2 separate regions of the Homo sapiens genome follow, and region 1 is linked to region 2. Evidence: promoter capture Hi-C in 16 types of primary human blood cells and fetal thymus (Javierre and others, 2016). All regions are on one chromosome and are shown on one strand. Each heading gives the region's core, a stretch centred on a gene start or on the middle of the fragment in contact. The rest is flanking DNA. Distances are from core to core; before and after follow the strand shown. Region 1 has its middle 34 kb from the start of LINC02890. Region 2 holds the start of ACSM1 (acyl-CoA synthetase medium chain family member 1).

The links. Contacts are between HindIII fragments. The CHiCAGO score rates a contact against its expected background, and 5 or more counts as called.
Region 1: a fragment that was not itself captured here is called in contact with the fragment with the promoter of ACSM1 in region 2 in 2 of 17 cell types (total CD4 T cells and total CD8 T cells); the score reaches 9.1 in total CD4 T cells.

Annotation. Positions count from the first base shown.
Region 1 is chr16:22,644,604-22,649,959 of GRCh38, forward strand. No RefSeq gene overlaps it. Among named protein-coding and RNA genes, the nearest start is that of LINC02890, 34 kb to the left of the region's middle. The HindIII fragment of the contact is 251 bases long and covers 3,852-4,102 here.
Region 2 is chr16:20,693,789-20,699,033 of GRCh38, forward strand. It overlaps ACSM1 (acyl-CoA synthetase medium chain family member 1), which reads right to left and starts at 3,892. Exons shown (of 14, transcript NM_001318890.3): 1 at 3,848-3,892. It also overlaps a transcript of ACSM3 not described here. The HindIII fragment of the contact is 2,330 bases long and covers 2,983-5,245 here.

The sequences.
Region 1 (5,356 bases), core at 2,727-5,226, 2.0 Mb after region 2:
CCTTTTCAACTTCTATTTTAGGTTCAGAAGGTATGTGTGCTGATATGTTACATGAGTAAATTGCGTGTCACTGGGGTTTGGTGTACAGATTCTTTTGTCACCCAGGTAATGGGCATAGTACCCAACAGGTAGTTTTTTGATCCTCACCCTCCTCCCACCCTCTATCCTCAAGTAGGCCCCAGGGTCTGTTGTTCGTTTCTTTGTGTCCATGTGTATTCAGTGTTTAGCTTCCACTTATAAGTAAGAACAGGCAGTATTTGGTTTTCTGTTCCTGCATTAATTCGCTTAGGATAATGGCCTCCAGTTCCATCCATATTGCTGCAAATGACATGATTTCATTCTTTAGTATGGCTGCATATTATTCCATGGTGTGTATGTACCATATTTTCTTTATCCAGTCCCCCATTGATAGGCATTTTGGTTGATTCAATGTCTTTGCTATTGTGAATAGTGCTGTGATGAACATATGCATGCATATATCTTTATATATTTTTTGAGACAGGGTCTCACTCTGTTGCCCAGGCTGGAGTGCAGTGGTGCAATCAGGGTTCACTGCAGCCTTGACCTCCTGGGCTCAGGTGATCCCCCCACCTCAGTCTTCTGAGTAGCTGGGACTACAGGGGTGTGCTACCATGCCTGGCCAATTTTTGTGCTTTTTTTTTTTTTTTTTTTTTGTAGATACAGGGTTTTGCCATCTTGCCCAGGCTGGTCTCAAACTCCTAGGCTCAAGCAATCCACCTGCCTTGGTCTCCCAAAGTGTCAGGATTACAGGCATGAGCCACCACACCTGGCTGCATGCACTGTGTCTTTATGGTACAATGATTTATATTCTTTTGGGTATATACCCAGTAATGGGATTGCTGGGTCTAATTGTAGCTCTGTTTCAAGTTCTTTGAGAAATCTCCAAACTACTTTCCACAGTGGTTGAACTAATTTACATTCACACCAGCATTGTATACACATTACCTTTTCTCTGCAACCTCACCAGCATCTGTTGTTTTTGACTTTTTAATAGTAGCCGTTCTGACAGGTGTGAGATGGTATCTCATCGTGGTTCTGATTTGCATTTCTCTGATCAGTGATATTAAGCATTATTTTCATATGCTTGTTGTCCACATACATGTCTTCTTTTGAGAAGTGTCTGTCCATGACCTTTGGCTATTTTTTAACGGAGTTGTTTGTTTTTTGCTTGTTAATTTGTTTAAGTCCCTTATAGATTCTGGATATTCCAGAATCTAGCTACTTCTTAACACCTCCATTGCCTTCTTAACGCCTCACTCTTGTCTGAGCCACTGTTGTCTCTCTCCTAGATGCTGCTACAGCCTCCTAGCTGGTCTCCCTGCCTCTCCATCCTTGATCCCTACAGGCTTCTTTCAACATAGTAGCCAGAGGGATCCCGGTAAAAATACAAGTCTGTCTGTGTCTCTTCTGCACTCAAAACACTCCAATGGTTCTGCAACTACCCCAGAGTAAAAACCAAAGTCATTCCAATGACCTAGGAAGCCCCACGTGCTCTGCTCCCTCCCTGATGCCTCTCTCTTCTCACCTCCTGCCAGTCTCTCCCTCATTCAGTTCATTTCAGCCACCTAGTTTATTTACTGTTTCTTGAACACACTGGGTACATTTCTACTTTGGGGACTTTGCACTGGCCATTCCTTCTTCCAATGCTCTTTTCCTAGATATTTGCCTGGCTAATTTCCTCTTCTTCTACAAATCTGTTTTCCAACGTCACCTTCTGTATGACCACTGTGTCTAAATATCAGTAGGCAACCCCTGCATGATTTCCAGTTCCCTGCCCACTGTGCTTTTTCTGTCTTTTCTTAGCACCTCTCCCATTTAACATACCATATGCTTTACTTATCATGTTTATTGCTTATGGTCAATCTCCCTCTTCTAGAATATAGGCTTCCTAAAGACAGGGATCTTTGTTTTCTTCATTGTTCTATCTCCAGTGCCTACAACAATGCCTGGGACATATTAAGCATTCATTAAGTATTTGTTAAAGGGGAAAATGAACCAAAGGGAAGGAATAACCAAAGGGAAGGAATAAGTTTTTTAAAAAAACTTTGTTGGAATAAGTTTTTTAAAAAAACTTTGTTGAAAAAAGTCTTTTCTTCCCATTTAAAAACGTGGTTTTGTTTCCGATTACAATCCAAATACACAAATTTTAAAGAAGAGTGAAATGATTTGCCATCATTGGACCCTCATTCCTTCATGGCAACTGTGGGCAGAGTAGAGAAAAGTTGCCCTCTTTAGATCAGGCAGACCCTCTCCAGTTTGCTGTGGTGCCAACTGAGCTCACTTTCCTCTTAGAATTCTGACACCTGGAGGTATCAGGGTTTGCTTCCTTTGATACACTTTGCTAGGAACTGGAGTGTCTATGCTCCCATTTGCAAGGAAGGAGTTCCGTTCCTGGGAGCTGGATCTTCCCCTCTGCCTGGGCTCTCTATTCATGTTTGCAGTAATTAGACACCAGGTTGATTGACCATGAAAGATAAGTTCTCAATCACTCCTGAACACATAAACATACCATGAGTACATGAAATAAAAATGTTACGTGCTGGGAACATCAATCAGAAGGGTAATGTTTATGTAGCATTGTTAATTGGATTTCTACAATGGGATATTCGGTGGGTTGGGGTTTATCTGATAACACCGTAGTCTGTGACAGCAACTTCTGTGACTCAGTGTGGCTTCAAGGTCAAGGAACTGAGCGTCCTCCTGACCAACAGGCTGAGGAGATTGTTGGGAGTTCTTGTGGGCCAGGCTCTTATCGGTGAGCTGTATGGAGAACACCATCTCTCAGATTTATCCATAATTTTAATGAATGCTCTGTTTGAGATAATGACCCATATCTTGACTTGCACAAAGCCCTGAAAATACTTCTACGAATTGTGTTTTATCTGAAGTACTGCAGCATGCAGCATCCAACATTACCATTGATATCATCTATTGAGAACTCTTTCCCAGGTTCTTTATTAAGGTTTAATTAAATTTTATGTCTTATCAATTAGGATTAATCTATATTTAGTCTGAATTAGAGGGAGCCAATTATAAATAACACCACTTCTCATTTATTCCTGAATACAAAATGAAGGTTTTTAAACTTTCTTTGGAGGAAAAAATAAAAAACCTCACAACCCCCCTGACTCAAATGTGTCCCTTTAAAGAGTTTTATGCCCAGGAGACCACAAATTCTATTATAATAAAGTGAAAAGATGATAATTCCTATAGGAAGGTGTTACAGACAGAAATGGGGGTCCGGAGGGAAAAGAGAGAGAATTTCTGTTATGATGTGGGCAATTGAAACAAAGAGATTTTCAACTTTAAAGTTTTCACTTGGAGCAATGGCACAAAGATAAACTGAATTTTCCAAGGTTATTGTGACATCTCTGTTTCTAGAAGAGGACAGACCAGCTTGTGCCCTGCGGTTGTGTTCAATGCTGTTAATTAAATATTTCCAATTCTGTTACTTCTGGGCACGAATTGGATCATACTCCTCCCCTCTCTTCACCTTGAAGTCAAATGTGGGCATGGGACTCGTTTGGTCAATGAAATGCAAGAAGAAGCAATATCTGTCAGTTCCATTTGGAAGCGCCCATATGGACTAGAGTGCAATTTCTCATGTTTTCTTCCTCCTGCTGCAGTGGTCATGGAAACACAATTCAGACAAAAGCCCCATTAGCCCAAGATGGGTGGCGTCTTCTCTGCCAGCCTGCATTGTTTGTGCAACATGAGCAAGAAGTAAACTTTTGTTGTGTTAAGCCATTGAGATGTTGAGGTTTTTGTTACTTCAGCGTCATGTAGCTTATCCTGCCTTATAGAAGCTCTATAAGCTTTAGTTTCTTCTAAGCTTTGGTACTGACTTCATTGGGTTGTTATATGAGGAAGAATAATGAAGTAATTAACAAAAAGTGTTTCATTTAGTGCTGGCACACAAGTACTCGGTAAATATTAGTGCTTCCTATTATTGTTGTTGTAGTTGGGGATGTCTATGTATTATGGCTAAATGATCCTATTTGGAATATTCTGATGGTATGTTCAAAGTTTATTTAAACTCTTAGTATTTCAATGTCTTGCCTTTCCACCTGATCAGAACAGAAGCTTCACATCGAGCACTTCTATTACCCCCTGCTAAAGAGTTTACAAAGCCTTCTAATGCACAGTTCTATTTACTTTCTTCTTTCCCTTACAACGCTATTGAATAGTCCTGTGGTATATAGTTTAAGAAAAGGCAAAAAGCCTTATGATAAAAGTCTGTTTAGGAAGGTACTGTGTTTTCAAATGAGCCTTTGGAGATCCGGCCTGCATAGGCTTTCTGGCAGACCTGTGAATTCAAGGACCCCCTTTCCAAAATTATCCAGAGTAACTTGTAATTTATAACTTGGGTTTCTGTACATGTTCCGGCCTGGACCTCATTTAAGTGCGTCCAGCCAATATACAGTGGTGTAAGCCATGAGGTTTGTAGAGACTCAAATTCTTGTTGTGACCAATATAACAGGTACACACTGTGAACTCGTCCCATGAGCTTGGTGCATTATTGAGCCAAGAATCCTCTAGAGGTTGCCTCATAGTAGGAAATCAGAGAGCTATCCAGGAACAATGGTGAGACCAGTTCAAATATTACCTGGACCCAGCATTTAGAAAGTCCAGTTCTTATGGATGCAAAGGTCTTGTTCTAGAATCAGGGTGTGGTCCCAATATACGCAAACTCACCACAGTTGGGAGGATTTTGGTTGCAAGTGACAGAAACCCAGCACAAACCCCAAAGGAAAATCATTGGCTCTTGTAACCCAGAAATTTAATGGATAAACCCTTCCAGCTTCAAGTATGGCTGTATGTAGGTGTCCAAATGATGTCATTAGCTCTTTCTCTTCCCCCACTCTAACTCGTTTTCTCTGTATCTACTTTCTTTTTTATCAAACTCTATCTACATGGCAGCAAATATGGCATTGGCACCTGTAGGTTCCCATTGCTTTTATTGCAGTGATCCCAGAAACAAGACTGCCTCTTTTTTTTTTTTTTTTTTTTTTTTTGATAGTTTCAGGAAAAATAGTTGGGAGGGTGCCAGGGCTAGTTTTTCTGTTTCTTTTCTTTTTTAAACTTTTATTTTAAGTTCAGGGGTACAAGTGCAGGTTTGCTACATAGGTAAACTTGTGTCATGGGGGTTTGCTGTAGGTTATTTAATCATCCAGGAATTAAGCCTAGTACCTATTAGTTATGTTTCTGGATCCTCTCCTGCTCCCACCCTCCACTCTCTGAAAGGCCCCAGTGTGTGTTTTTCCCCTCTATGTGTCCATGTGTTCTTATCATTTAGCTCCCACTTATGAGAACGTGTGGTATTTAGTTTTCTGTT
Region 2 (5,245 bases), core at 2,642-5,141:
AACATCCCAGGAGAGGCAGGAATTTCCCCAAAGTCATGATGCAATTTTAATATTGTAAAAAGTAAAATAGAGGTTCCTCTTCAAAGACTTTCCTCCCCATCTAATTAGGAATAAATAGTAACTTCTCTTAAAAGCAAAATTTATTCAAAGTCCTGTGCTAAGATTCTTAAATATCTGCTAACCGTAATAAAGAAATCAATGTACTTTATGTTCTTAGCTCCCACAATTTAGCCTAAATATTTGCCCTGGCATTCTTATACTGGTCCAAGCAAGCATTAGGCCATAGCCTGTTCCTCTTGCTTATTTAAAAGTGTTTTAATCTTTCTCAGCATTTCACGAGTTACTTCCTCTTTCCTTTGTTCTCCTCTACCTTTGCCTCTTTAAAAAAGTTCTAAGTTGCTAGCCAATCGGGACAAATACAGAATGTGAGGTCCCGTTCCAGCCAGTGGAAACCGGACACAGCAGTAGGGTGGATGCGTCAGGTTATAAATGACCCTGTCTCCTTTGTTCTATGTACTCTCCTGGCAAAACTGCTGGCAAGTGTACCATTTCTGCAGGAAGTAAAAATGGCCTTGCTGAGTAAATTAAATTTACATTCAAGTCCTATTTCTTTACGGCACCAAGGAACAAACATTTCAAACAATATTGTAGCCAAGTTGGTTCTAGAAGCCCATCACCTCTGTTACATTTTCCAACACACACCTCCTTCCACAGGCATGAGCTTAGTTTGGGTGAGAATATCAAACTCAGTTGCAATTTTTCTATGCAGGTGTCTATATGACCTCAGGGTCTTCCTTAAAATACAAACTCACCATTTTTCCTGAAGACAGTCCAAACAACCCCTTACTAAGTGACTAAAGACCAAAACAAAAGGGAGAGATATAGTGAGGGAATCCATTAACCAGTTATCATGGTTTGAACTGTGTCCCCCATGAATGTATGTGGTGAAGTACGAACCCCAATATTTCAGAACACCACTGTATTTGGAGATTGGGTCTTTAAAAATGTAATTAAGTTAAAATGAGTTATTAGGGTGGGCCCTAATCCAATATGACTGGTGTCCTTATAAAAAGAGGAGATTAGGACACAGACACACACAGAGGGAGACCATGTGAATATGAAGATAGCCAAGGAAAAAGACCTCAGAGAAAACCACCCTGATCTTGGACCTCCAGCCTTCAGAACTTTGAGAAAATCAATTTCTGTTGTTTAAACCACTCAGTCATTAGTAATTTTCATGGCAGCCCTAGCAAACCAATGTACTCCTCTTGATCAAATAAAGAAGAAATGACTTTGGCATCATCTCACAAATGTGTTTGTGATTCTAATTTAATCTTCGTCACATGAGAGGGCCAAACACAGTGCCCAGCTGTGGAGAACTGTGGTAGCTGAAACAGCATGGCCCTAGAGATCAAACAACACGGGCTCAAATTCCAGCACTTTCATTTCCCACCCACATAACTTGGGGCAATTTATTTAACCTCCCTATAAAAACATAGGCATATTGGCAGCACCTATTGCCTGAAGCCATGGTGATAAATGCACGATATCCTGCAAAAAGCATTCAGCACGGACAAGTATTTTAGAAATAAGAGCTGTTGCTAGTTAACACACTTTATAGGGAAGCTCTTATAGAGTAGTTAAGCCAGAGGAAAAAAATTTCCTTAACTTTTGGAGTTAAGGTCTAAAGAGAAGGAATGGGGATGAATACCTGAACATAGACACCATAGGACTGGTATATGTCCAGCTTTTTCACTGATTATCTGTCTATCTATCTATCTATCTATTACCTATCTATTATCTATCTATCATCTATTTATCTATCTATTACCTATCTATTATGTATCTATCGTCTATCTATCTACCTATTACCTATTTTCTATCTATCTATCATCTATCTATCTATCTATCTATCTAGATATATAAGAACCTGATCTCCAAGTGTTGAGGACTGAAAATCAGATATCTATATGTCTATGTCTGCGTCTATCTCTATCTCTGTATGTATGTTAAGCTTCATTTCTAAATCTATTTCTGTATCTATATACCAATATTTACATTTATACCTATATCACTATCTGTGTATATCTATACATTAATATTAATGTCTATAACAATAACACATGTACACTGTAGTCATGTGCCACAATATGATGTCATTGTCAGTGATGGATCACATATACAGAGTGGCCCATACAATTATAATGACATATTTCTACTGTACCTTTTCTATGTTTCAATACACAAGTACTTACCATCGTGTCATGACTGCCTACAGTATTTAATACAGCAACAAGCTACATAGGTTTGTAGCCTAGAAGCAATGGGCTATAGCATATCGCCTATATGTGTAGAAGACTATGCTTTGTGGGTTTGTGTAAGTACACTCTATGAGTTCCCATAATAACAAAATCACCTAACAATGCATTTCTCAGACGTATCTTGGTTGTTAAGTGATGCATGTCTCTATCTCTATCACTATCTCTGTCTCTATCTCTATCTCCGTCTCTGTCTCTGTTTCGATATCTATTTCCATCCACATCTGTCTTCAGATTTGACTTCACAAAGCTTAGTTTGTCTATTTCTCACCGTGCTGGACATAGTAAGTGCTCAACAAAAAGTTAGATTCTTCCCTTCTTTGTCATAATTCAGAAAACTGAGTGATGAAAGTCAGAAAGAGAAAAGCCAGTGTGCCCACAAATTATCTGAGTTATAGAAAAATGTATTTTTTCTTTCTCAAGTATTTACTATAGATGTACCATGTACAGTTTTAGATACTATTGGAGATTAATTAAACTGAAAGAGTTCCTACCCTGTTAGAGCATATCATTAAAGCACATCCTATGAAATCATTTTAAAGAACAATTTTCTGAACTGCTTAAAGTGCATTCTGAAAGCAATTTGACATGGTAGCTTTGAGAGGCAGCTGGGCTCCCCACTGTATTCCCAGATACATAGTGCCTTGAACAGCTCCTGCAACTAAGCTTTGACTTCACAGGACTTGGGACTGATAAAGCTATTTAATGAAGCAACATACTTACTGTGTTATAGGGTATCCCAGAGTTACAGAGCCAGGGCTAGATGTTTGTCTCTGTTGTCTAGCAGCTGGGTCTTTGGTGCTGTTCATGTCTCTGAACTTAAGCGCACAGTAGTAATACCTTCTTCCCAGCTCCCCATAAGGATTAGTGTGATAATTTACTTGCTGGCACTGAATGAAGTGCACGGTAAGGACTCAATAAATGTTGAGGTACCTTTTAACTCCCAGCAAATTCTGAAGCCAACCCCCTCCCCATTAGATGTTAACCATTTTTTTTGAAACTGTCACCTGGACTGGAGTGCAGTGGTGTGATCATAGCTCACTGCAGCCTCAATCTCCTGGGCTACAGTCATCCTCCTGCCTCAGCCTTTCAAGTACCTGGGACCACAGGCATGTATTACTATGCTTGGATAATTTTTTTTAGAAGGCATTCACTTTATAGAAAGTGAGCCAACTTCTGCATAGATAGAAAAGATTTCCTTCAAACATTCATCTCTGACTTTGTGCCTGTCTCCCACGGCTCACCACATTCAGAGCTGCCTGACACTAAACCAGTCCCCATTTACATGCCAGCCACTGTGCTAAACATATTACATGTACGTTCCTATTTATTCCTCTCACCCAATATCACCATTGTCATTTTGCCTCTAAAATGAAGTGCCAAGAAGTTAAGTGACTTGCCCAAGGTCACTCAACTTAAAAGTAGCATTGCCAGAACTTAAAATTGGATTACACACACACACACACACACACACACACACACACACACACACACACACAGATAGAAGCTGACCTTCACCTCTGTCTTACCTGGTACTGTTTAGGACGTAGCTGAACTAGGTCCCTGGTAGGTATGGAAAAGGAGGTTGAGCTCTCTTTTGTAGGTTCAGTTCTCTCTGATCAGGTGATCCGCAGGATTGTGCACCCAGCAGAACTTGGCTTCTGGCCACAGCGAAGGGGGACCTTGAACAGAGAACTTGTTAGGAATTGGGTAATTCAGTAGGGGGAGGAGATGCTCAGGTAAAATAGGACAGAAACAATTACAGGCCTCCACGGAGAGATAATCACTTAGAAAACAAACCATGTGGGCCGGGCGCAGTGGCTCGCGCCTGTAATCCCAGCACATTGGGAGGCCGAGGCGGGCGGATCACGAGGTCAGGAGATGGAGACCATCCTGGCTAACACGGTGAAACCCCGTCTCTACTAAAAATACAAAAAATTAGCCGGGTGTGGTGGTGGGCGCCTGTAGTCCCAGCTACTCGGGAGGCTGAGGCAGGAGAATGGCGTGAACACGGGAGGCGGAGCTTGCAGTGAGCCGAGATCATGCCACTGCACTCCAGCCTGGGAGACAGAGACTCTGTCTCAAAAAAAAAAAAAAAAAGAAAAACAAACCACGTATACGAAGTCACCTCCAATTCCGGTGGCATGGCTAGGGGTGTGAATGAACTAGATCCAATGGTGCATTTTCACTAGTTCTCTGTGGCTAACCTGCTCCCCCTTCCCAGCCCTACATCACCATAGTCTCCCTTAAATGACAGCTGAGAGTCAGTGTAGCCTAATGGATAAGAGCCTGGGCTCTGGAGGTCTGGAGGCAGAAAGGTCTGAGTTTGAGCCTTAGGTCTGCCACTTAACCTCCATGTCATCTTTGTGGACCTTCTTGCTCTGGGCCTCACCTCCCTTAATTGGTTTTCGGTTGCTTTTGAGACAGAATCTCATGCTGTCACCCAGGCTGGAATGCAATGGCATGGTCTTGGCTCACTGCAACCTCCGCCTCCCAGGTTTAATTGAGTCTCTTGCCTCAGCCTCCCAAGTAGCTGGGATTATAGGTGCCCGCCACCACACCCAGTTAATTTTTGTATTTTTAATAGAGACAGGGTTTCATCATGTTGGCCAGGGTGGTCTTGAGCTCTTGACCTCAGGTGATCTGCCCGCCTCAGCCTCCTAAAGTGCTGGGATTACAGGCATGAGCCACAGCACCCAACACCTACCTTATTTGTAAAATAGGAATGATAACAACAATACCTACCTCCCAGGGTGTTTTCTTTGCTTCTTCATTTGTTTGTTAGAACTAGATGAAATAATTTATAAAAAGCATGTAGCACACGGTGCTGGGCATAGTCGATGTTGGCTCTTTTTATTCACTTGGGATTCTCAGAGGAACAATTTGGTATCCTGGTAAAATGCAGGGTCTTTGGAATCCCAAAGTCT